Regions from separate parts of the Homo sapiens genome. Here all the other regions are linked to region 4. Evidence: promoter capture Hi-C in 16 types of primary human blood cells and fetal thymus (Javierre and others, 2016). All regions are on one chromosome and are shown on one strand. The core of a region is centred on a gene start or on the middle of the fragment in contact, and the rest is flanking DNA. Distances in the headings are between cores, read along the strand shown. Region 1 overlaps BTLA (B and T lymphocyte associated). Region 2 overlaps SLC9C1 (solute carrier family 9 member C1). Region 3 overlaps ATG3 (autophagy related 3). Region 4 holds the start of SLC9C1 (solute carrier family 9 member C1). Region 5 overlaps GCSAM (germinal center associated signaling and motility).

Region 1 (5,446 bases), core at 2,701-5,200, 200 kb after region 4:
GTATTGTTTCATTTGACCCTCACAATGATTTTATGAGGGAATTACTATTATGGCCTTTATTTTTTTAAGTTGAGGAAACTGGGTATTAGAGAATATAAGCCACTTGCCCAAGATCACCAGCTGGTAGGAGGAAGAGTCAAGGCTAGGACTTTAACCCAGGTGTGGCTAACTCCAAAGCACAAGCTCTTATCCAGTAGGGTTGTTGTGAAAGCAAATGAGAACATATAGGAAATATTCTTAGCACTATGCTTGGCACATAACAACAACATAAAGTACCAGATATTATTATGTTTTCTGATAGGATGAATTTAGGGAAATCACACAGAAGTTGAGTCATTGTCCAGAGGTGTAAAGCCTATGAATGGTAAAGACAAGATGGAAACACAGAAGACTCTGCTGTGAAAAATTACCCCCAACAACCATTCTAGGGATCAGCAGTGGTGCATAATAACTAGTATATACACCAGGCAAAAATATATCTATATAATAGAGAGAAGAAAGGCAGCACATCCAATATAAGCATGCTCTTCTTTTATGTGGGAGAGGAAACTCTACAGAAATATATTAACCAGCAAGGCTTGCCTTGGTCAAAACTAGAATATTGAAAAAAACTTTGTCCTTTGATAATTTTCTAAGCTTGCTTTCAGGACTTCTTCATTACATCTCTGCCAAGTCACAAATGTCCCCTTGCAGATCTACCCTACTGGTCACTGACTTTGCTTCTCTAGGCCAGAGGATTCATATGCATTGCACTCCTTAGAGCCCTGTCTACTCTGTGTAACAAGGATGAGTTTCTGGTGGTTTTAGTTGGTCAACATGTAATTATCGCCCTTGAATAGTAAAAGCTTCTAGTCAACTTAATGAGTCCTAAAGAACAATGATTTAGAGAGACTTTGATTGCCTGTTACACATAGGCCCTGTCCTTCAGAGAGGCTAAATTTTCCACCTTTGTCACAGGGATTTCAGGAAGAAACATAGGGCAGCAAATGTAGACAGCATACCTGAGAAGCTGTTGACAGTAGCATCAGTGAGTGCCTCTGGCATTTGATCAGAAACCAACATGAGTATTTCTAAATATTGACTTCAGTGGAAGGATTGTTACTTGTGATGTTCAGATTAAGTGTGGCTTATGTATTATGATTGGAAAGGGAAAGTCCATCTCTACTTTCTTCCCAGATACTTCCTCACATCTCTAATACATTCTACCACAGACATCACACTGAGATTCACTGGCATTTTCAAAGCCCTTGAAGATACTAAACAATACTTATGTGGACAGAATCTGCTAAATGTCTTCCAATATTAATTCTCATCTTCTAATATTATAGAGGAAAATGAAGTGGGGCCATAACCCCCCAGATAAAAATCTCAATGCCCCAGCCTCCCTTGTAGCCAAATACTGGATAATAGGCCATTTGTGATGTGTGTGAGTTCCAGGTTGTGCTTATAAGATGAACATGGTTATCAAGAAGGCAGAAAAAAGAAATTAAAGAGCTCTGCCAGCTAAACTTGATGTTTTCCTGGGACTGATCTAACACTCTTCTGGACTCTGTTCTAAGTGAATCTCAAATTGTATGACACCTCTGCATGCATACACACAGACACATGCTGCACACAAGCCACTTCTTCCATTGAGATAAACATGTAAATCAGGTCCATAACCATGAGAGTATACCAGAAAGGTACAAAATATTGAGCTTATTTTGAGGTAAGAGAATGGAGAGTATTAGAAAAGTGAAGCAAATCGCATATGATACAATTCACTGACACAATACAACTCAAGCGCATGATTCTCAAGCACTATTAGCTTTTCTTGGTGACCAAGGATAAGAGTAGATAATGCTTTTGGCATTTTTCTCACAAAGTCTTCATGACATAAATGCCAAAAGCAATTGCAACAAACTGAAGAACTTCTGCACAGCAAAAGAAACTCTCATCAGAGCAAAAAGGCAACCTACAGAATGGGAGAAAATTTTTGCAATCTACCCATCTGAAAAAGGCCTAATATCCAGAATTTACAAGAAACTTAAATAAGTTTACAAGAAAAAAACAAACAACCGCATCAAAAAGTGGGCAAAGGATATGAACACACAGTTCTCTCTGTTTTTTTTTGGAGACAGAGTCTCACTCTGTTACCCAGCTGGAGTGCAGTGGTGCAACCTGGCTCACTGCAACTTCAGTCTCCTGGGTTCAAGCAATTCTGCCTCAGCCTCCCAAGTAGCTGGTCTTACAGGCGTGTCCCACCACGCCCAGCTAATTTTTGTATTTTTAGTACAGACAGGGTTTCACTATGCTGGCCAGACTGCTCTTGAACTCCTGACCTCAAATGACCCGCCCTCCTCAGCTTCCTGAAGTGCTGGGATTACAGGCGAGAGCCACTACACCCAGCCTAAACAGACACTTCTCAAAAGAAGACACTGGCTGGGCGCGGTGGCTCACGCCTGTAATCCCAGCACTTTGGGAGGCCGAGACAGGTGGATCATGAGGTCAGGAGATCAAGACCATCCTGACTAACACGGTGAAACCTTCTGTACTAAAAATACAAAAAATTAGCCAGGCGTGGTGGCAGCCGCCTGTAGTCCCAGCTACTCGGGAGGCTGAGTTAGGAGAATGGCATGAGCCCGGGAGGCAGAGCTTGCAGTGAGCGGAGATTGCGCCACTGCACTCCAGCCTGGGCGACAGAGCGACACTCTATCTCAAAAAAAAAAAGAAGACATTTATGCCACCAACAAACATAAGAATAAAAGCTCAACATCACTGATGGTCAGAGAAATGTAAATCAAAACCACAAGGAGATAACATCTCACGCCAGTCAGAATGGTGATTATTAAAAAGTCAGGAAACAATAGGTGCTGGCAAGTCTGTGGAGAATTAGGAATGCTTTTACACGGTTGGTGGGAGTGTAAATTAGTTCAACCATTGTGGAAGACAGTATGGCAATTCCTCGATCTAGAACCAGAAATACCATTTGACCCAGCAATCCCGTTACTGGGTATATACTCAAAGGAATATAAATCATTCTACTATAAAGACACATGCACACGTATGTTTATTGCAGCACTATTTACAATAGCAAAGACACGGAACCAACCCAAATGCCCATCAATGATAGACTGGAAAAAGAAAATATGGTACATATACACCGTGGAATACTATGCAGCCATAAAAAAGAATGAGATCATGCCCTTTGCAGGGACATGGATGAAGCTGGAAGCCATCATCCTAAGCAAACTAACACAGGAACAGAAAACCAAACACTGCATGTTCTCACTCATAAGTGGAAGTTGAAAATGAGAATATATGGACACAGAGAGGGGAATAACACAAACCAGAGCCTGTTGGGGAGTAGGGGGAGAGGAGAGGGAACTTAGAGGATGGGTCAATAGGTTAAGCAAACCATCATGGCACACGTATACCTATGTAACAAACCTGTACATTTCTGCACATGTATCCTGTTTTCCTTTTTTAGAAGAAATAAAGAAAAAAAAGAGTAGATAATAATATCAAGAGTAATTTATAGAAGACTTTTGTGAACTCCAAATTTTTATTTGTGGTTGATTCCCAATTGTCACCCAATGTTACTTTAACAGGACTATTAAACTAATGAAATGTTGGACTAAAAGAAAAAAAATTAGCTAAATATACACAGCACTGAATGGCATGCCATGCACTATTCTAAGTGTTTTACAGAATTAATTCACTTAATAGTCACAACAACCTTATAAGATTATTCTCCCATTTTTTTAGATGAGAAAACTGAGAACCAGAGATTTTATAGTCACAAAACCATTAAATGGCAGACATAGGATACTAATCCATGGAGTCTGGCTTTAGAGTCCCTGATCTTAGCCACTATACCACACAGCTTCTCCAAGGAAAAAAGAAAATGATTATTTTTTGGACCTGATTACAAATGCCTGTAAATATTTTTCTTTTAACAATTCTGAACTCTACATAAAGATGAAACTCACAAATAATGGAAATTAAGTAGGAAAGTCCCAATGAGGCAAGATAAATAGTTTTGACGTCAACTTTACAATAGAGGAAACTTTGGTAGTAGGACAGAGGAAGCAAGAAATTTAAAAACTTCTCTGTGATAGGAAAAGTATATTCAAGGCTGCAATGAGCACAAGGTTAATCTTTTCATGCTTTAATTCAAGAAGTCCTGTAACCACAGAATGCATTCCTAAACATTTATTTAATATATGGCAGGCATTGTTGTAACAATACATAGGCACTTGGCAGAAGACAGAGCTCTATCTCTAGCATTCCTCCATATGCACATTTCAATAAGAACAAATAGCTGAAGCCATAGAAATATGCCTTATAAAGATACTGTGCTACAAAACCTGAACTTCAAGGAATGATATTTTTTGACCCAAAGATATGGCCAGTTTGTAGTAGAGCAAAACAATCTGTGTGGGATGTGGAACACGGTGTTTAAAAGCTGGTCCATGGACCATACTGGACCATCATAATAAAGGGAAAAAAATGACACAAGCCAGACCAAAATGGAGACATAGCCCTAACCACTGTATTCTCAAAAGAGCCAGAATACAGGTGTCTTTCCCTTACTGAACCAGACTAGGATTGCTTTTTTTAAAAATCACAATAACCAGTAATCAATCAAACAGTTCCAACTGCCTTTATTCTGCATCATATATGGTGTTGGTGATACCCAGACATTAACTGCAGTGTTCCTGCCTGCCTAAAAGTGGAATCCTTGGTTGATCCTCAACTGAACTAGGGTCTAGGGCAGCCTCAGACAAATGGTCCAGGATGACAGGGCAGGCAATGGACAGAGACACTTCCACTTGCAGTCTAGATCTTGCCAGCATGATCTGCCCATGAAGGGAAGATATTGACATTTTTATTACTTCTATCAGGACAGAAACTGTATGCCACACACTGAGGGGCAAGTTTCTCTAATTTTTTAGAGAAACACAAAAAGTAAGCAAGCATACTTTTGTAATAAAGAAGGACCTTAAACAGGAAGTTTGTAGAGAACATTACATTTTTTCCAGCCTTATTATATATGCAGCCTCACTCCTAGGAACAAGGACACGGATCTCACATTGCTTTGAAGTAGGGGGAAAAAATCTTCAAAGGCTATCTTTAAACACTGAAAATGTATTACTGTAAAGAACTCAGCAATTAAGTAAATCACAGGAAATCCCCAAGATATAAGGTATTTAATGTGGTTTTAAGAAATGGAGCCATCAGCTCTGCCTGGGAGAACAAATTTCACCAAATGTTCCTTCTCTTAACCTATAGCTTTAATTTAATGCAACTGCTGCTGCAATCCATTATATCAACTGGTATATATCTGACCAGTACTTCACTCAAGTCTTTCCCTTTTTTTTTTGAGTGCAGTGGTGTGATCTCAGCTCACTGCAACCTCTGCCTCCTGGGTTCAAGCTATTCTCCTGTCTCGGCCTCCCGAGTA
Region 2 (4,880 bases), core at 1,181-3,680, 150 kb before region 4:
ATCAGGGTGATGCTGGCTTTGTAGAATGAGTTAGTGAGGAGTTCCTTCTCATTGATTTTTTGAAATAGTTTCAGTAGAATTAGTACTAGCTCTTCTTTGTATATCTGGTAGAATTTGGCTGTGAATCCACCTGCCCTTGGCTTTTTTTTTTTTTTTTTTTTTTGGTTGGTAGGTTCTTTTTTATGGATTCAATTTTGGAACCTGATATTGGTCTGTTCAGTTTTTCAATTTCTTCCTGATTCAATCTTGGGAGATTGTGTGGTCCCAGAAATTTACCTATTTGATATGGTTTGGCTGTGTTTCCACCCAAATCTCATCTTAAATTCCCACATGTTGTGGGAGAGACCCGAAGGCAGATAAATGAATCGTGGGGGCAAGTCTTTCCTGTGTTGTTCTCATGATAGTGAATAAGTCTCACGAGATCTGATGATTATATAAGGGGGAGTTTCCCTGCCCAAGCTGTCTTCTCTTGTCTGCCACTATATGAGATGTGTCTTTCACCTTCTGCCACGATTGTGAGGCCTCCGCAGCCACGTGGAACTGTAAATCCAGTAAACCTCTTTCTTATGTAAATTGCCCAGTCTCAAGTATGTCTTTATCAGCAGCAGAAAAACGGACTGATACACCATTTCTTCTACATTTTCTAGTTTGTGTATGTAGAGGTGTTCATAACAGTCTCCAAGGATCTTTTGTATTTCTGTGGGATTGGTTATAACGTCACCTTTGTCATTTCTGATTGTGTGTATTTGGAGCTTTCTTTTTTTTTTTAATCTAGCTAGTGATCTACTGATGTTGTTTATCCTTTCAAAAAACCAACTTTATTTCCATTGATTCTTTGTGTGGACTTTTATGTCTTAATTTTGTTCAGTTCTTTTCTGATTTTAGTTATTTCTTTTCTTCTGCTAGCTTTGTAGCTCATTTGTTCTTGTTTTTCTAGTTCCTAAGGGGTGAAATTAGATTGTTAATTTGAGATCTTTCTAACTTTTGAGGTAGGCATTTAGTGTTATAAACTTTATGCTTAACACTGGTTTTGCTGTATCCCAGAGACTTTGGTATGTTGTGTCTCTTTCATTTATTTCAAAGTTGTTTTTGATTTTTGCCTTGATTTAATTGTTTACTCAAACATCATTCAGAAGTCAATTGTTTAATTTCCATGTAATTGTGTGGTTTTGAGAGATCTTCTTGGTATTCATTTCTATTTTTATTCCACTGTTGTCCAAGAATATGGTTGGTATGATTTTGATTCTTTTGAATTGATTGAGACTTGCTTTATGGCTGAGCATGTGGTCAATCTTGGAATATTTTTTGTGTGCGGATGAGAATAATATACATTGTGGTTGATGGGTGGCGTATTCTGTAGATGTCTATTAGGTCCAAGTGTTGAGTTAAAGTCCAGAATTTCTTTGTTACTTTTCTGTCTCAATCTGTCTAATACTATCAGTGGGGAGTTAAAGTCCCTCACTAGTATTGTATGACTATCTAAGCCTTTTCATACACCTAGAAGTATGTGTTTTATGAACCTAGGTGCTCCAATATTGGGTGCATATAAATTTAGGATGATTAAGTCTTCTTTTTACATTGAACCCTTTATCATTACATAATGCATTTCTTTGTCTTTTTTACTGTTTCCTATTTAAAGTCTGTTTTATCTGATATAAAAATAGTGACCCCTGCTCTTTTTTGTTTTCCATTTGCATGGTAGATCTTTCTCCAGCCCTTTACTTTGAGCTCATTGGTGTCATTATGTGTGAGATGCGTTTCTTGAAGGATAGGTCTTGTTTTTTAAATTCAACTTGCCCCTCTATGCCTTTTACGTGGGGGTGTTTACACCATTTACATTCAAGATTCATATTGATATGTAATTTTGATCCTATTGTGAAGTTGTTAGCTGTGTATTGTGCAGTTTCTGTTGTGTTTTTGTTTTATATGGCCTGCAAGGTATGTACATGGGTGAGTTTTTGTGGTAGCAGTTGCCATTCTTTTCTTTCCTTGTTTAGAACTCTCTTAACAGTCTCTTGTAAGGATGGTCTCATGGTAATGAATTCCCTTAGCACTTTCTTGTCTGGAAAGTTAATTTTCCTTTGCTTATAAAGCTTAGTTTGGCAGGATATGAAATTCTTGGTTGGAATTTTCTTTCTTTCAGAAAGATGAATATAGATCCCCAGTCTCTCCTGGCTTGTAAGGTTTCTGGTGAGAAATCTGCTGTTAGCCTCATGGAGTTCCCATTGTATGTTATCTACCCTATTTCGCTGACTTTAAAATTTTTTCTTTGGCACTGACCCTGGACAGTCTGGTGACTATATGTGTTGGGGACGTTCATTTTGTATATTGTCTCTAGGTTTTTGTATCTGGATGTCTACATCTCTAGCAAGATTAAAGAAGTTTTCTTGAATTATTTCCTGAAATATATTCTATAGGTTGTTTGACTTTTCTCCTTCTCTAGGGAATGCCAATAATTCATAAGTTTGATTTCTTTATATAATCCCATATTTCTCAAAGACTTTGCTCATTTTTAAAATTCTTTTAAACTTTATTTCAGGCAGACAGGGTTAGTTCAAAAGAGTGGTCTTCAAGCTCTGAAATTCATTTTTCTCTTTGGTTTAGTCTATTGATAACATTTTCAATTGTATTTTCAATTTTTTTAGGTGAGTTTTCCAATTCCAGAAGCCCTGATTGATTTCTTTTTAAGGTGTTTATCTCTTCTTTCATTTCCTGGATTGTTTTAAGGTTTCTTTGTGTTGATTTCCAGCTTCATCTTGGATCTCATTAAGCTTCCTTATAATCCATGCTTTGACTTCCTTATCTGTATCTCTGAGTTTACATTTTGGTTAGGGACCATTGCTGGAGAGCTAGTGAAATCCTTTAGTGGTGTTACTACATTTAGATTTTTCATGGTGCCAGAATTCTTGCATGGGTTCCTTCTCATCTGGAGACACTGGCACTTCTAATTTTTGTAATTCTTTTCATGTGAGTAGAATTTTCCTTTTTCCCTTTAATAATATTATTATTTGTTTATATTTTATTTTTTCCCTTCCCTTTTCCCCCACTCCCTAGGGGGTATGACCATAGAGAATGCTGTTTTGGCTTTGCTACTGTAGCTCTATGTCTTAATAAAACTTTTGGCAGGTTTTATATTGGGCTGTGCAGTTCATCGTACAAGCCTGTAGATGGTACTTACAGTAAGAGCTGGCTGTAGCCAATGTGTTTAGGTATATACTTGACCCGTGTTTACTGGCAGAAACTATTGTTTTAGGCAATGGGCTAATTCCTAATATGCACAGTGGTCTGAGCTCCCTGCTCAGCCTTGAGGGGATGGGGAGTAGGAGCCAAAAAGGGTGTGTCTTGACTGGGCAGGTCTGTCTGCAGGTCTCTTGATAGCAGGCACAAGCACCAGTGCCAATAGAGAATCCAGTGAGTGTCCACCAGGTACTCACTGGTGTGCCTGGGCATGGAGTTGGGAAACCTTGGCTCTGAGTTCTCTGCACAGGGATGGGGGCAGCCTAAGCTCCTAATCTAGAAGAGTGGGTGCTTCAGATGCCTGAGATCTGCTTGTGTGTGGAGCAGAGATGGCCCCCCTGCACCAAGATCTCTGCACAGGAGGGGTAGGGTGACTCAGGCTGCTGGCCCAAGGAAGCAGGTGCTCTGAATGCTTGGAGATCTGTGTGAGCGTGGAGCAGAGAAGGTCCCCCTGTACCAAAATCTCTGCACAGGAAGTGGGGGGAGCAGTTGGGTCAGGCTGCTGATCCAGTGAGTGCATAGTCTGAATGCCTGGAGATCTGCCTGGTCATGGAGCAGAGAGTCCCACTGCTTCATGATTCTGGAAGGGTGGGGTGGCTCAGGCTGTTGAAACAGGTCAGTGGGTACTCTGAATGCCGGTGATCTGCCTGGGCATGAAGCAGAGAGAGAGTTCCCACACACCAGGATCTCTGCACAGAAAGGATGGGGTGGGTCAGGCTGCTGATCCAGTGAGTGAGTAATCCAAATGCCTGGAGATCTGCCTAAGTGTGGAGTAGAGAGAGCCCTGCTATACCATGATCTATGTGCAGAAAGGATGGGGTGGCTCAGGCTCTTGAACCAGGCAAATGGGTGCCCCAAATGTCTGGAGATCTCCCTGGGCTTGGAGCAGAGAGAGCCCTGCTGCACCACAATCTATGTCTAGGGAGGATGGCATAGCTTAGGCTGCTGAACCAGGTGAATGGGTATTCCAAATGCCTGGAGGTCTGCCTGGGTGTGGAACAGAGAGCCCCACTGTACCATGATCTATGTCCAGAAAGGGTTGCATGGCTCAAGCTGCTGAACAAGGCAAATGGGTGCTCTGAACACCTGAGATCTGCCTGGGTGGGGAGCAGAGGGAGCCCCACTGCACCATGATCTGTGTCCAGGAAGGGTGGGATGGCTTAGGGTGCTGAACAGGGTGAATGAGTGCTCCACATACCTGCATTTCTACCTGGAGGTTGAGCAGAAAGGGCCCCACTGCACCACAATCTCAGGGGAGCAGGGTAAGGCACTCAGCAATGGCACATACAGATAAGTTTGTGGTTGCCAAGCTGGCCCTGGCTGCAAGTCTCACTACCCAGAAGAAATTACAGCTGTAGCAGTTTTCCTCCTACCCCAGACTTGCAATGGGAAAAAGCACAATTCTAGCACCTACTGTTGAGGCACTTCCCACAATTCTGGCAGTGAAGGCTCCTACCCTGCTCCAGAACAGGGTGTTCAATCTCTGGCCTGAGACTAAAATGCCTGTATAGCCATGCTGCTGAGTCACCCAAAAATGACTGACTTTTTATGTGACCGGATTAAAAATGGCATCCTGCTCTCATCCCAGGTCTGGGAAAATGTCTACAGCTTTCTCCAGTGCCTTTCTCCTAAGTTAACTCGAG
Region 3 (5,040 bases), core at 54-2,553, 240 kb after region 4:
TCATTGCACTTAAAAACATTAGGAGCTTACTTTTCATTGGGGGAAACCAATTACTATTATGAATTATATATAGACAGTCTTCCAAGTTGCTACCTAGCATCCAGCAGAGATGTGCCAGTTAGGCATAATAGGACTTCAGGAGTAAATATGGTTTGGACTGGAAGTTTTTGGTTTGTTTCAATATCAAATCAGTTCAAAGTTCTTCTTAGGGACACACTTTATTAGCAATGCCCCACAGTCTGATTAGACGTGGCATCTTAGTCTCCACATCTAATCTAACACATAGTAGCCGAAACCACCACCAAGTCAAGTATTAACCTAGCATCAAACTAATTCAAGCTATCTGGCATGTAAATCATTGATTTTGACTGTTTTTGATAAATCTATGCTATGAGTACATGTACTTTAGGATCCAACAGTTTGCTTGGGCATTAACTTGAATGTATTACTTTTGTCAATCCAAGAAAACTGAGTAGGAAAACTATAGTAAGATACAAGAAAGGTGCTACTGTCTTGAGAAAAATGAACGTACTATATTTTAAGAATATCTAAAGCACTTCACGTAGTACATTACTTTTAATTAACGTATTTGTTTAAGCTGAATTATTTGCTTCAGAGACACCTCAGATTGACACAACCTAATTTTACTTTTACCTGATGGGAAAGTACATTTTTGGTAACATGTTAAACTGGAAATGTACATAAGAAAAAGATACTCATATTATTATTCTAAATTAGTAGTTACCTCTGTAACAAGGGTGAGCTACTGCTACACATGGGGACATGTTCTAATCAACTAAGCAAGGCATAACTATCACAATATAACATTTTCTAAATAAATGAAAGACTTCTACTAGGATTTTCAGATGAGAAGTTAAAACAAGTTATAGCTACTGTATCATTAAGGTTACACTAAATTTCTCAAAAAAAAAATCGTTAACAGCCATTTTGCCACTAATCTTACATACAGGGAAGGATACATATGAACTCCAAGTTCTCCCCCTCCTTCTGCAACAGTCTCAATGATTTTCTTCATCACCTCAGCATGCCTAGAAGCCAAAAAAAAAAAAAATTGTTAATGTAGATCGATTAGACCGAAAGAAGAAAAACATATTTTCATTTGTAAAGAAATCGACCCTATTACTCTCAGTGAATTAATTTTTAATAGTTATATTATAAACTATCTCCCCCACCACTCCCCAATAACTATAAAATATTTATTAAAATAGTTAAATTATAAAATATCTCCCCTCCACTTCCGAAACACAAAAGATAACAGATTGTTATGCCATGCCAACAGTTTTACCAGGGGAGGGCATAATCTTAAAAAGCTATGGTAGTCACAGCAGACACCATGGCATTAGTTAGTGTTCTGATAATTGGGAGAGACAAGGAAGGCAGAAAACCAGAGATGAGGAAATCATTCCAGGAGAAAATGTGGAATGATAGCTGTTTGCTCTAAGAAACAAGAGTCATATCAGGCAAATTAAAAAAAAAAAAAAAAAGACACATGGTATCAGTTGGACAAAAAAGCAAAGAGGTATCTATAATCTTGTGATCTGGGCTGTTTATTTAGCTGAGAATAAGCCAAAACTGAGAGGGTTTAAGAAAAGCTAATTGGTTAGAGTTGAGAGGTTTGTATTTGTTTCTTTGTCCTAATAGGTATTCTAAAATTTATCCAATTCTATGTAAAAATAAATTTTTTGGCTTATAAGAAGAAAGGTATTTATTTATATGAAGTTTTTGTCCTATCTATACATCTTTTCATGGCTAACTGTTCTCTCTCCTGTACTATAGAAAAGAGTGATATCAAAGTTAGTATCTAGGCACAGAAACCAAGAAAAAGATAATTTTTAAAGAAACAGTCTTTTTAACATACCTTGGCTTAAATAATGCTGCTTCAGTTTTTACGACTATAATCTTCATGACAGAGACAGTCAACTTAGAATATGAGAGTAAATGTATGATTCCAGAGGATTTGAAGGCACAATCTGAGGCAGCCCATGGAATGGTCTAAAATGTCCTTGAAGTTTTATTTTATAGGCACTCAGATTTTTTGAAATACTTATATCCCATTCCACAATACAGTCATCTATTTTATTAAAATGTTTAACATAATTACCAGTTATTTTTCCCCCAACTGAGTAAAGTTTATACCTCAGAGAGATACGCTTCAGTTTGATAAGCACCATCCTAAGACCTTAAACCATAAGAGGAATCAAGAGAATAACTCTAAAAACTGAAAACTTTTTAGATTACATAATTCAAAACTAAAACTAATGGCTCCTAAATTATTTTTCATAGTTAGCAAAGTTTCAGACATAATAAAACTGAAAAAATGAGCAAGGTCTTCCACGGAGTTAAAGTTTGAGAGTAAAGAGGTTGCAGAATATGAGAAGAAAATATTAAAGGTTGTTTTTAACTAGAGGGAAGAGAAAACAAAATGTTTCATCTAACTAGTCAACAGAATATGAGTTTCACTGAAAAATATTGTTACTAGTATGTTACCAGTATTTTCCAGTCAACTGGGAAAGTTATCTATTAGAAATAACCAACCTAAAGAAATTGGCATGTAGTAACTGTTTTTTAAGAAAAATTCTGAACTAATCATGTATATAGGTTCAGCTTCACAGATTTGGCTCTGTGAAAAAACACTGATACAAAGAAAATCCCAACTTATAAAATGCACTTGACTTGCTAAGGCTGACAAGCTCTCAACTGAAGAACATACATCCATATATCTCCCTTCACTAATCAATAAAAGAAAGCAAATAGGTCACCTAGAAAAATCACAAGGTTAACTCCACAGTCTACATTCACAGAAAGGCAGTCACAACACAGCAAACCATATCTAAATGACTATTTCTGAGTCAAAAACAGAATCTTCCAAACTGTTCTGGAAGCTAAAAAGTGTAGTAAAATCACAAAGATCCATCTATTCTATAAACACCCACAGAGAACAAAAAAATTCTTAACATATTAAACTTAAAACAAATTGGTAAGTTTTTTTTCCTTTTTCTTATATATTTAAGCACAAGAAAATTTCTAAGGAGGACAAGAGAGAATTTTACTTTTTAGTAAGAAAATTTTTTTCTGTTAGGGTTCTATGTTTAAAGATTCTCAAGTAATAAATCCATGAAATATACAATCACATCAAAAAATATATTTATCTCTACATATACAGACCTGCATGGGTGAACTGAACACATGGGAGGTGGTGGCAGATGAGGGTGATTTTCAATGGTCACTGTTTTCTTCACATGATCCTGACTGATGTCTTCATACATGTGCTCAACTGTTAAAGGCTGCCGTTGCTGAAAGCATAAAAAATGCTTTGAAATTACTATTTAAGGCCGGGTGCAGTGGCTCACGCCTGTAATCCCAGCACTGTGGGAGACTGAGGTGGGCGGATCACATGGTCAGGAGATCGAGACCATCCTGGCTAACATGGTGAAACACCGTCTCTACTAAGAATATAAAAAATTAGCCGGGCAGGGTGGTGGGCGCCTGTGGTCCCAGCTACTCAGGAGGCTGAGGCAGGAGAATGGCGTAAACCCGGGAGGCAGAGCTTGCAATGAGCTGAGATTGCGCCACTGCACTCCAGCCTGGGCGACAGAGCGAGACTCCATCTCAAAAAAAAAAAAAAAAAAAAAAAAAAAAAAAAAAAAAAAAAAGAAATTACTATTTAGAAACTTTCAGCCTAAATCTCAAGGTTTATAATATATTTAGTTCTCCATCTCACATCACTTGCAATTTAGAATTCTAGACTGTTTAGAATGATTTCTGGGAAATTTTACAATTTATTAATATCAAGGGAGGGACAGGAAGGAGTCACAGCCAAGCTCTGTGACAGCTACCCCCAATGCAGAAAAAAAATCTCACAAAAAGACAAGTTTGTGGCTATCAAAACATTTTATAACTTTGTGGCTCATCTTTTAGACTGACTTTATTTTCTTGTTTCCCATGTATAGCCATAAGAATGACAGGTTAAACAAGTTGATTTCCTGTCAATTATCCTTTAATTCAATTAAGTAGATGAGTTTTCTGTCTTAAGGGGAAAAATACATACATACAACAATCCACTCTCTTCACATGTGACATGGTCATTCTGTAAATGCCTATATATCCAACTGATGTAATCCCAAACAAAATTTAATAAAATAAACCAAGTTAAATTTCCCTCACATTTTGAAGGCATAAGCCTTCAAAAAAGGAATATGTAATAGATTATTTCTGTTTATGTCTTAGCATTATTGTTACACTGAATAATTCATAGTTCATTCAAAATAAGAAAGAATCAAGTTCAACATTAATCATAAAACTGTAAAACAGATGATTTCCAAAATGTGAAACACTGCAATAAATACTCATGGACCTAATGAAGAAGAAATTAAAACCCAACAATTTAAAATATTGATATTAAAATATAATGCTTTTCATTTTTACCTCATCATAGCCAAACAACCATAATCGTGGAGTCTGGTAATATTTATCATAAGTGATGTAAAGGTCATAAGTTCTGGTTTGCAAAATAGCATCTTCACCGCCAGCATCAGTTTTGGCTTTACAAGCTTCTACTATTTTCCTTGTATCTAGGGTAGCCTGAAAATAATAAAAGAGAAAAATTTACAACCATTAAATCGGTATGAATGTGACATTCTAGAAAACTTATTTTTTCCATTCTATATTTTGTTTTCTTAAGAGTAAATGAACTTGGAACTCAAAGCTACGTTTTATATGCTATAATCAATATGAACAAATTAGAATGTCTTTGAAAGATCAATATATTATTAGTAAGAACATGCATCCCCAAGTTCATCCATTAAAAATTAACTAAAGAAAACTCAATTTACAAACCTCATCTGTTTCCAACAATCCACTCTCTTCATATTCTGTTATAAAAAAACAACAAAAGATTAATCAAGTTCAAGTTCAAGAAAATTCCCTAAACCAATTTAAGTATTACTTCATAGTATCATTCAAAAACTGGGGTTTTGCCTTTGTTTTTAAGTGAAGATATTGAATAGATAGATATAAGTG
Region 4 (5,479 bases), core at 589-3,088:
TGTGATAAATACCATTTGGCTTCCCCAACCTCTACTCCAAAATCTCATAAGAAATCTCTATTTGAGAATAGATGTCATCTTAAAATAGTTTTAAAAATACTAACATTACTGTAGCTTAATATGTTAAATGTATGGGTAAGGAAATAGCTATGAGAATAAACAGGTTTTCTTTTTTTTGTTTTTTGAGACGGAGTCATGATCTGTCGCCCAGGCTGGAGTGCAGTGGTGCGATCTCGGCTCACTGCAAGCTCTGCCTCCCGGGTTCACACCATTCTCCTGCCTCAGCCTCCCGAGTAGCTGGGACTACAGGCGCCAGCCACCACGCCCGGCTAATTTTTTGTATTTTTAGTAGAGACGGGGTTTCACTGTGTTAGCCAGGATGGTCTCGATCTCCTGACCTTGTGATCTGCCCGCCTCGGCCTCCCAAAGTGCTGGGATTACAGGCGTGAGCCACCACGCCCGGCCACAGGTTTTCAATATAATTAGAACTCTTCATCTTAAGCTGACTTTTGACAGCTTTGTAAAAGTCTGTGAGTCCAAATCCCATTAAAGAAAAAAATATTGGTTTATCACATAGGTCCTCTGCATTAATTTAACAATAAGTTAGTTGACTGAGCACAGTGGCTCACGCCTGTAATCCCAGCACTTTGGGAGGCCTAGGCGGGTGGATCACTTGAGATCAGGAGTTCGAGACTAGCCTGGCCAAAATAGTGAAACTGTCTCTACTAAAAATACAAAAAAAAAAAAAAAAAAATTAGCCAGGTGTGGTGGCACATGCCTGTAATCCCAACTACTTGGGAGGCTGAGACAGGAGAATCAATTGAAGAGGCAGAGATTGCAGTGAGCCTAGATTGTGCCACTGCACTCCAGCTTGGGTGACAGAGTGAGACTCTATTTCAAATATATATATATATATATATCTCTCATGTTAGCTAATATCTCAATTCTCTTTGTGTGTGGAGGAAATTAATGACTGCCCTCTCAAAAATGACATGAATTTGTCCTTGTCAGTCAGCCAGCATTGAGAAATTTTGTCTCATGAACCGTAAGTCACACTAATTTACCATGTTACTGAACATGGAAACAGTCTTCTTCCTTCAGATTGGAACGTTTTGCAAGAATTAGGTGAAGAAAGCATCCTGAAGAGGGCACTGTGGGATCTCAGTAATCTTCACAGCTACAAAGCTCATGCTTAATGGTTTATTTTATATTGATACCAGAGGCTGGATTGTCTCCTTAGTAAACTCTCCTACCACACAACGCAGACATCTTACTGACTCTGAAGGTGGGTGGGCTATTGCCCTCCTAATGCCCCTCCACTCAGAATGAGCCCTTCCTCCAGCTCAAGATCAGCTCCACACACCTGAGGCGATTCCCTGAACCAGTGAGCTTTCCCCTAGGGCTGGACTTTTCAGTTTCAGTAACGCAAAGGGAACACATGCCACTGGATAGTTCACAAAGAGTTGATGTAAAAAGCATAATGGAGGAGGGGAAGCAGCTAAGGGGTAGAAGTTCAAACCGAGAAGCTAGCTGATCTTTGGGAAAGTGTTCCATGGTCTGCCACAAGAAAGGCAGAAGCGCCAAGAGGGAGTGGCTGAATCTCTAGCAGGAAAACAGTGGGAGCCTTTGTTCATCTAGGAGGCGAGACTGAGAGAGAAAGTACCAGTAGGAAAGGTCAACTTCCAGAAAAGGAAACTAGAGACTGGAGAGCTCACCATCCGGAGCCTCAGGAGGAGTATCCCGTGGTGTGCAAGTGAGAAGTGGGGGGCAGCTATTTCGCTCACAGCCAAACAGCCCAGACCAACTGCAACCTCACTGACAGTTACTTGCTCCAAACTCGCCCCTAGTCTGCACCGGTTAGCTTCAGGCCCATCATCTCTTACTTGATTGGCTGATGAAATGCAACGTCATTGCTCCTGTATATCTCAGGCATTTGACGGCTTAAGGCTTTGTTTTATTTTTTAAAAATAAACAAATAAGGGGTGAAAATGAACCTACAGAAATTGCGCCATTGTGTTAATTTAAGACTTTGGGACAGTGGATTTCTGACAAAGAGCTGTTGGACACTGCTTTCCCAGAATTCTAGTAAAAGGAAGTTTCCTGGATAAGATAGTGTGGTAGAGATATGAGGACGCAGGTTGCTGGGTTAGGGAAAAAGTGAATGGATATTGTGGGCATGTAAGAGAATGAAATCAAGATGACAAGGTGAACTTTCACTCTGGGTTATATGTGAGGAAATTTTCAGGAATAATGATATACTCATTTGTTTTTTCTAAACATAATATGTAAAAAATATTTTAATTGAAATTACTTAGTTATTACTATAGAGCCAACTTTTCACATTCCTACTCTCATAAAATATCTTAAAGTTATTTAAAATTGTATTTAATGTTTTGTTCTCTGTGTTTCATCTCTTTCTCCCGACCCACACGTTTATAAGTGAATGGTGGTAAAATTCCCAACTCTTCATTTGGCCTCCTCTGATACTACCCTGATGAAGAAGGCAGGAGGCAACTTGTTTGGCTGGGTTGGAGCAGAAGTCCAGGCTCCCTACATGGTCTCCAACTGAGGCATGGGGTGCATCTTTATGGCCTGGTTGTTATGGAAGTTCCAGCTCCCACAAGGCCTTTTCTGATACTGCTCTGGTTGGGGTGGGGAAACAGGCAGGGTTCTGGCATCTTGTATGGTATGGGTGAAGTTTAAGCTTCCTACTCAGTCTTTGCTGGTATGTGGGTACAGGGAGTGGGTGAACACTTTTCTGTGGTGTTTGGTTAAAGTAGAGCAGTTACTGGTGAAATTTTCTGTCTTGCTGGGCTGCCCCTTTTCTTGGGTCTTTAAAAAATCTATTCTCGGCCAGGTGCAGTGGCTCATGCCTGTAATCCCAGCACTTTGGGAGGCCGAGGCAGGTGGATCACCTGAGGTCAGGAGTTCGAGACCAGCCTGACCAACAAGGTGAAACCCCGTCTCTACTAAAAATACAAAAATTAGCCGGGCATGGTGGCAGGCGCCTATAGTCCTAGCTCCGGGAGGCTAAGAAAGGAGAATCACTTGAACCCGGGAGATGGAGGTTGCAGTGAGCCGAGATTGCGCCACTGCACTCCAGCCTGGGAGACAGGGTGAGACACCGTTTCAAAAAAAAAAAAAAAGGATTCTCATTGTTGGAAATACATGCCACATATCTGTGTGTGGGTTGTGGTTCATGTGTGGATATATATTTAAAAATTAATTAAGTTGCAAAGCTAATATTTGCCACATTATGTATTTGTTTATATACATATGTCTTGCTAAGTTTATATATATATATATATATATATATATATAAATAAAACAGGAAATGTAAATGTTGTCTAATATTTCTCTTTAGCAATATACTCTAATGACCACACACTGGACATCCTTGTAATCCAGAATCATTCACCTTTTTTTTCCAAGAGATGGGATCTCACTCTGTCACTCAGGCTGGAAGGTAGTGGTATGACCATAGCTCCCTGCTACCTTAAACTTCTGGGCTCAAGCAGTCCTCACACCTGAACCTCCCAAGTATTTGGGTGAATACTTCTACAGGCATGTCACCACACCTAATTTTTTAATTCTTTTTGTAGAGATGGAGTCTTGCTATGTTGCCCAGGCTGGTCTCAAACTCCTGGCCTCAAGCCATCCTCTCCTCAGCCTCCCAAAGTCCTGGGATTATAGGCATAAGCCACCTCCCATGGTATCAGTGGAGACCATGCAGGGAGCAGTAATAGGACACCCTTCTCTTTCCCATCCAGGGGGCTATCATCAGAGACCTAGTGAAGAGCCTGAAGCCCCACTCCTACCTAAGCAGTAAGAAGACACCCCTTCTTCGGCTGTGTGTCAATGAAGACTGAGTAGAGAACTTGAGCTTTTATTCCAACTTGCCTACAAGAGGTGACCCCACTTCTCCTGCCAGAACAGTGTCAGAGGATGCCTGGTAAAACCCAGGATTTAAATAAGATCCAGTATCTTATAATATCTGCAATGTCCAAATAGAAATTGAAAATCGCTCATCATACCAAGAACCAAGGTGATCCCAACTTGAATGAGAATGGACAATAAAAGACACCAACCCTAAGATTACAAAAATGTTAGAATTATCTAAAAAGGATTTTAACATAGCCATCATAAAAATATTTCAGCAAATGCTAATAATTATGAACAGTATTGAAATAGATGAAAAAATAGAAAGTCTGGGCAAAGAAGTAAAGTTCCAGGGAAAAAAATAGGTGATATAAAGGGAAGCCAAATGAAAATTACAGATGCAAAAAATACAACAACAAATTCTAAAAAAAAAAAAAAATCAGCAAATGGACTGCCTTGCACCTCTCTTGTTAAACTTATTCCTGGTCATTTAATTCTTTTTTTTTTTCCTTGCAATCACAATGGAACTGGGTTTTTAATTTTATTTTTGCATTATTCATTGCTAGTGTATAGAAGTACAACTGATTTTTCTGTATTAATCTAGTATTCTATAACCTTGGTGAACTCATTTATAGGTCAGTGCCAAAGTAATGGCAAAAACCGCAACTACTCTTGCACCAACCTAATATTAGCTCTAATAGGCCTTTTGTAGATTTTTAGGGGTTTCCGTATATAGGGTCATGTCATCTGCAAATAGATATACTTCACTTCTTGTTTTCCAAACAGTATCCCACTCCATCCCCCACCTTTTAAAAAATCTTGCCTAATTGGCCTGGCTGGAATTTCAAATACACTGTTTAATAGAAGTAGGGAGAACAGACATTCTTGTCTTGTTCCTGATCTTAGGGAAAAACTTTTTCACCATTAAGTATGCTGTTAGCTGTGGGTTTTTCATACATGACCTTTATTGATTCAAAGTAGTTTCTTTCTATTACTAGGGGGTTTTTTTGTTTTGTTTTTTGTTTTTAGTGTTTTTTTGCTTGTTTGTTTGGTTTTTTCTTTTTTTTTTTTGAGACGGAGTCTCGCTCTGTCGCCCAGGCTGGAGTGCAGTGGTGTGATCTCGGCTCACTGCAAGCTCCGCCTCCTGGGTTCATGCCATTCTCCTGCCTCAGCTTTTTAATCATATAAAGGTGTTAGATTTTGTCAATTGCTTTGTCTGCATGTATTGAGATTATCAAAAGCTTTTCTCCCTTATGGTGCATTACCTTGATTTTCATTTGTTGAACCAAACCTACATTCCTGAGATAAATCCCACTTGAACGACATGTAAATTTCTTTTTTATATGCTGCTGGGTTCAGCTTACTAGCATTTTACTGAGGATTTTTGCATCTACACTCTCAAGAGATAATGATCTATAGTATTTTCTTGTGAATTTTTTGTCTGGCTTTGGTATCAAAGCCTCAAAAACTGAGTTAATAACTATTTCCTTCTCTTCTACTTGTTGCTGTTATTGTTATTGTTAGGATTTGTGAAGAATTTGTGTTACCTCTTTAAGCATTTGGTAGAATTCACCAGTGAAGCCATCTGGTGGCTTCTTTT
Region 5 (3,131 bases), core at 1-2,500, 160 kb before region 4:
TATAAGTATCATTCTGTACATTTTTCTGAATTTGAGGCATAGTCAACTACCTACATGGTTGAATGTGAAAGCCCTTTATAAAGTAGTATCAGTTACAGTATGTAAAAATGTTTGGAAAACACCATCCAAAAATATCTCCCCCCGTGAGCTTTCCCATGAAGTTTCATCAGGAGGAGCAGTGGAGGAGAGGCTGACTGCATCGTGACCTTGGCTGTGATCACCTGCTTGGCTGAGCATTCTGACAACCTCTAAGATCTATGCATCATCAAAGCCTTTGGGGCCCAGAGGCACAGCTGCAGCTCTTCCTCTTCTTTAGGTTACCTTCAATGTGCTTCAGACCGTTTGCTTACATTATCTGCTTTGTTGCTAAGGAAACATCGTAAGAAAACTACTGAATCACACCAAGTTAACAAACCAGATTCACTGAGGAGAAATGAATGAGATAAGAGGAGGGGGATGATTTTGAGAGATATTCTCTGAACTCCTGAGGCCACAGTTTTTAAATCTATAAAAGAGGATGTATATACTGCTTACACATGGAGTTATAAGAATAAGCTGAGGTTAAATATGGGCAAAAACGATCTGTAAGCTGGCTGTTTCTCCTACTTGACTTTTCTGCAGTTTATTCTTGCATTTCAACATGGTGGTTTTGGTTTGGGATGGGTTCAGATAGCCTCCAAGAAGCAAGCTAGACAAATCTCTATACCCTTAGGCTACGTGTCAGGAATTTGAGGTATCTGTCTCTTTCACAATGCCTTCTCTGGCTCTCTGGTCTACCCAACCTCTCCCTTGTTATAATGCCGTGGCCCTTCTGATTTATTTCATCATTTGAACTGTATGCCTTAAAATATGCCCAATGATACCCCTGAAAATATGTAATTCTCAACTTGAACTGAAAAAATTCACCCTGTTGAAAGGAATCTCTGGGTCTCCAGCCCCTAACGCGGGCATTGGTGTTAGAAAATAACAACAGTGCTTGTTTTTTAATTGCTCCTCTTTCAAAATCTCCTCCTGAAACCATGTGAAAAGCACAGATAACTTTACAGGCCACAGAAAAACTGACCTTGTCAGCCCTTAGGATTCTTGGATCCTGGAACATTAGTTCCATATTTTAATTATTCCTTTCCTTAGAGAGAATTCTTTAGGGCTGGACATTTGAAAGGTCTGTTCAAAAAGAATTAATGAGGTGGTCTTTGTTTAACAACATCAGGGCAATCACAATGGTGTCTCCACAAACTTTCTAAAAATTGTCGTAACATGGGGCATGTGGTCACTTCAGAAATAGACACCTATAGCTTAAAATAAAATGGCTAGGGTGGAGGTTGAGCACAAAGGTACCTGAGATAGACAAACAAAATGACAACAGGAAATAAGACCTTTTATTTTATAACAGGGCATAACAGGGACTAGCAGGGTCTTAGTTCCTGTTGCTAGGAGTTACATTAGGCTTCTAGCAAAGTAGCATATCTCCTGTCCAAAGTTTTCAAGCATTTTATCTTTTGTCCTGTCTTCACATTTGTTACTATTGCAACTGCTACTGGTCTAAACAGGGCCCTCTCTCACTGGGATGTGAAGTCCAGGGCTTGACATACTTCGTTCTCCTTGGGCAAGGTCTGGGGGGTGTTTGGTTGATTTTGCTCTCACCTGGATGTTCTCTGTTTGGGGCTTTGCATTCTCACATTCCAAGGCATCTCTTGAGTGTTCTGCTGCCGCCTGAAACTCAACATATCAGAAACAGGCTAAGTATTTCCTAAACAGGCCTGTCACTTCTTTTCATAATTTTTCCGACTTTCCTCATTTCTGCTATTTGTGTGTAACTCAGAAATTGACTGGTTGCCCTCACACATGTTAATACTGTTTCCTCAAGCACATGTCGCAAGCTACCTTTGATCTGACATGCTCTCCATTGCCACAGCAACAGCCCACTGATGTTCTCCAACCTCCATGAACAAGTGATCCTAAATCATCTGATCCCAAATATCCAGGGATCCTCGTCATGACCCTTGAGAGTATCCGTGTCCAGAGAGAGGCCTGAGGTCCTCAGCTACCATCTCTTTGGTGCAGTTCCAGGAGCTATGCACAAGTAATGGGGAAAGGTACTGGCTTTGTCTTGTGTAAATCACACCATCTTTCACAGAAAGCATGGAGGCCCAGAACAAGGGACAGAAGGAGAAGAAAAGGATTGAATAAAGAAAATAAATTGGTTCATTGTTTGGGTTAGATTTCTGTATACCCATCTTCCCACTTGTTGGGAATTGGGAGTATGAGGATAAAGAAACTAACACTTAAACACTACTTACTATATGCCAATCATTTTGTGTGTTATATTTCATTTAATCCCAGAATAAATCCATAAGATAGATATTATCATTATATTTTTTATACTAATGAGGAAACTGAGGCCCAAAATGCTAGGCAACTGGTCTGAGGATCCACAGCCACTAAGGGGGAAAAGCTGGGTTTGCTGCTGGCAGGTCTCTTCCTCTGAGACTGAGCTCCTCTCATGAAGGGATGAGTGCCATTCTATTCTGTGCAAAATTTCCCTGACTTCTTAGCTTATTTGATCTGGAGAGACACGGTTGGGGGGGTATGCTGACTAGATGATAACTGGGTGTTGGGGTGACAATGAAAATTAGATACCAATATATACAAGACTTTTGAATACGTTAACGGAAACATTTTATTTAATTATTTTAATGAATTTATTTTTAAGACTGGGTCTTGCTATGTTGTTCAGGCTGCCCTCAAACTCCTGGGCTCAAGCAATCCTCCTGCCTCAGCCTCCTGAGTAGCTGGGACTACAGGTGCATGCCACTGCACTTGGTTCAAGGGAGACCTTTTAAATCATCATAGAAATAAAGATGTTGGGCAAACTGATCAACTATTTGGAAAAAAATTTACATCTGACACCATATATTGAATATATGTTGCCAAATGTAAAATAACAAAATCAAAACTTATGTGAGTTGATTTGTCTTATCTTAGGAAGAGCAAAGAATTTTAAGCATGAATGCAATGGCAGAAACCAAAAAGCTTTCTAGATTTAAAATCGAATTTTCTTTAAAATAAATAAAAAACCATAAGAAGTCCAAATAGCATAAGATGTGTGCACCTTGGAAAAAGGTTTTTTT

Evidence for each region. Contacts are between HindIII fragments. The CHiCAGO score rates a contact against its expected background, and 5 or more counts as called.
Region 1: a fragment that was not itself captured here is called in contact with the fragment with the promoter of SLC9C1 in region 4 in 5 of 17 cell types (naive B cells, naive CD8 T cells, total B cells and 2 more); the score reaches 7.6 in naive B cells.
Region 2: a fragment that was not itself captured here is called in contact with the fragment with the promoter of SLC9C1 in region 4 in 1 of 17 cell types (naive B cells); the score reaches 6.0 in naive B cells.
Region 3: a contact is called between a fragment that was not itself captured here and the fragment with the promoter of SLC9C1 in region 4, in 16 of 17 cell types (naive B cells, megakaryocytes, naive CD4 T cells and 13 more). The highest score is 21.7, in naive B cells.
Region 5: a fragment that was not itself captured here is called in contact with the fragment with the promoter of SLC9C1 in region 4 in 2 of 17 cell types (naive B cells and M2 macrophages); the score reaches 6.6 in naive B cells.

What each region holds. Positions count from the first base shown.
Region 1 is chr3:112,491,412-112,496,857 of GRCh38, forward strand. The region is part of intron 1 of BTLA (B and T lymphocyte associated); the gene reads right to left. Among named protein-coding and RNA genes, the nearest start is that of BTLA, 5.3 kb to the right of the region's middle. RefSeq lists a silencer at 713-762. The HindIII fragment of the contact is 6,214 bases long and covers 844-5,446 here.
Region 2 is chr3:112,145,449-112,150,328 of GRCh38, forward strand. All of the region lies in intron 28 of SLC9C1 (solute carrier family 9 member C1), which reads right to left. Among named protein-coding and RNA genes, the nearest start is that of TBILA, 14 kb to the left of the region's middle. The HindIII fragment of the contact is 678 bases long and covers 2,092-2,769 here.
Region 3 is chr3:112,533,289-112,538,328 of GRCh38, forward strand. It overlaps ATG3 (autophagy related 3), which reads right to left. Exons shown (of 12, transcript NM_022488.5): 8 at 4,858-4,892; 9 at 4,447-4,602; 10 at 3,187-3,314; 11 at 981-1,049. Among named protein-coding and RNA genes, the nearest start is that of ATG3, 26 kb to the right of the region's middle. The HindIII fragment of the contact is 6,531 bases long and covers 1-4,569 here.
Region 4 is chr3:112,292,378-112,297,856 of GRCh38, forward strand. SLC9C1 (solute carrier family 9 member C1) reads right to left here and starts at 1,839. Exons shown (of 29, transcript NM_183061.3): 1 at 1,716-1,839. The HindIII fragment of the contact is 3,564 bases long and covers 1-2,702 here.
Region 5 is chr3:112,128,801-112,131,931 of GRCh38, forward strand. GCSAM (germinal center associated signaling and motility) reads right to left here. Exons shown (of 6, transcript NM_152785.5): 2 at 1,645-1,713. It also overlaps a transcript of C3orf52 not described here. Among named protein-coding and RNA genes, the nearest start is that of GCSAM, 2.9 kb to the right of the region's middle. The HindIII fragment of the contact is 3,561 bases long and covers 1-3,031 here.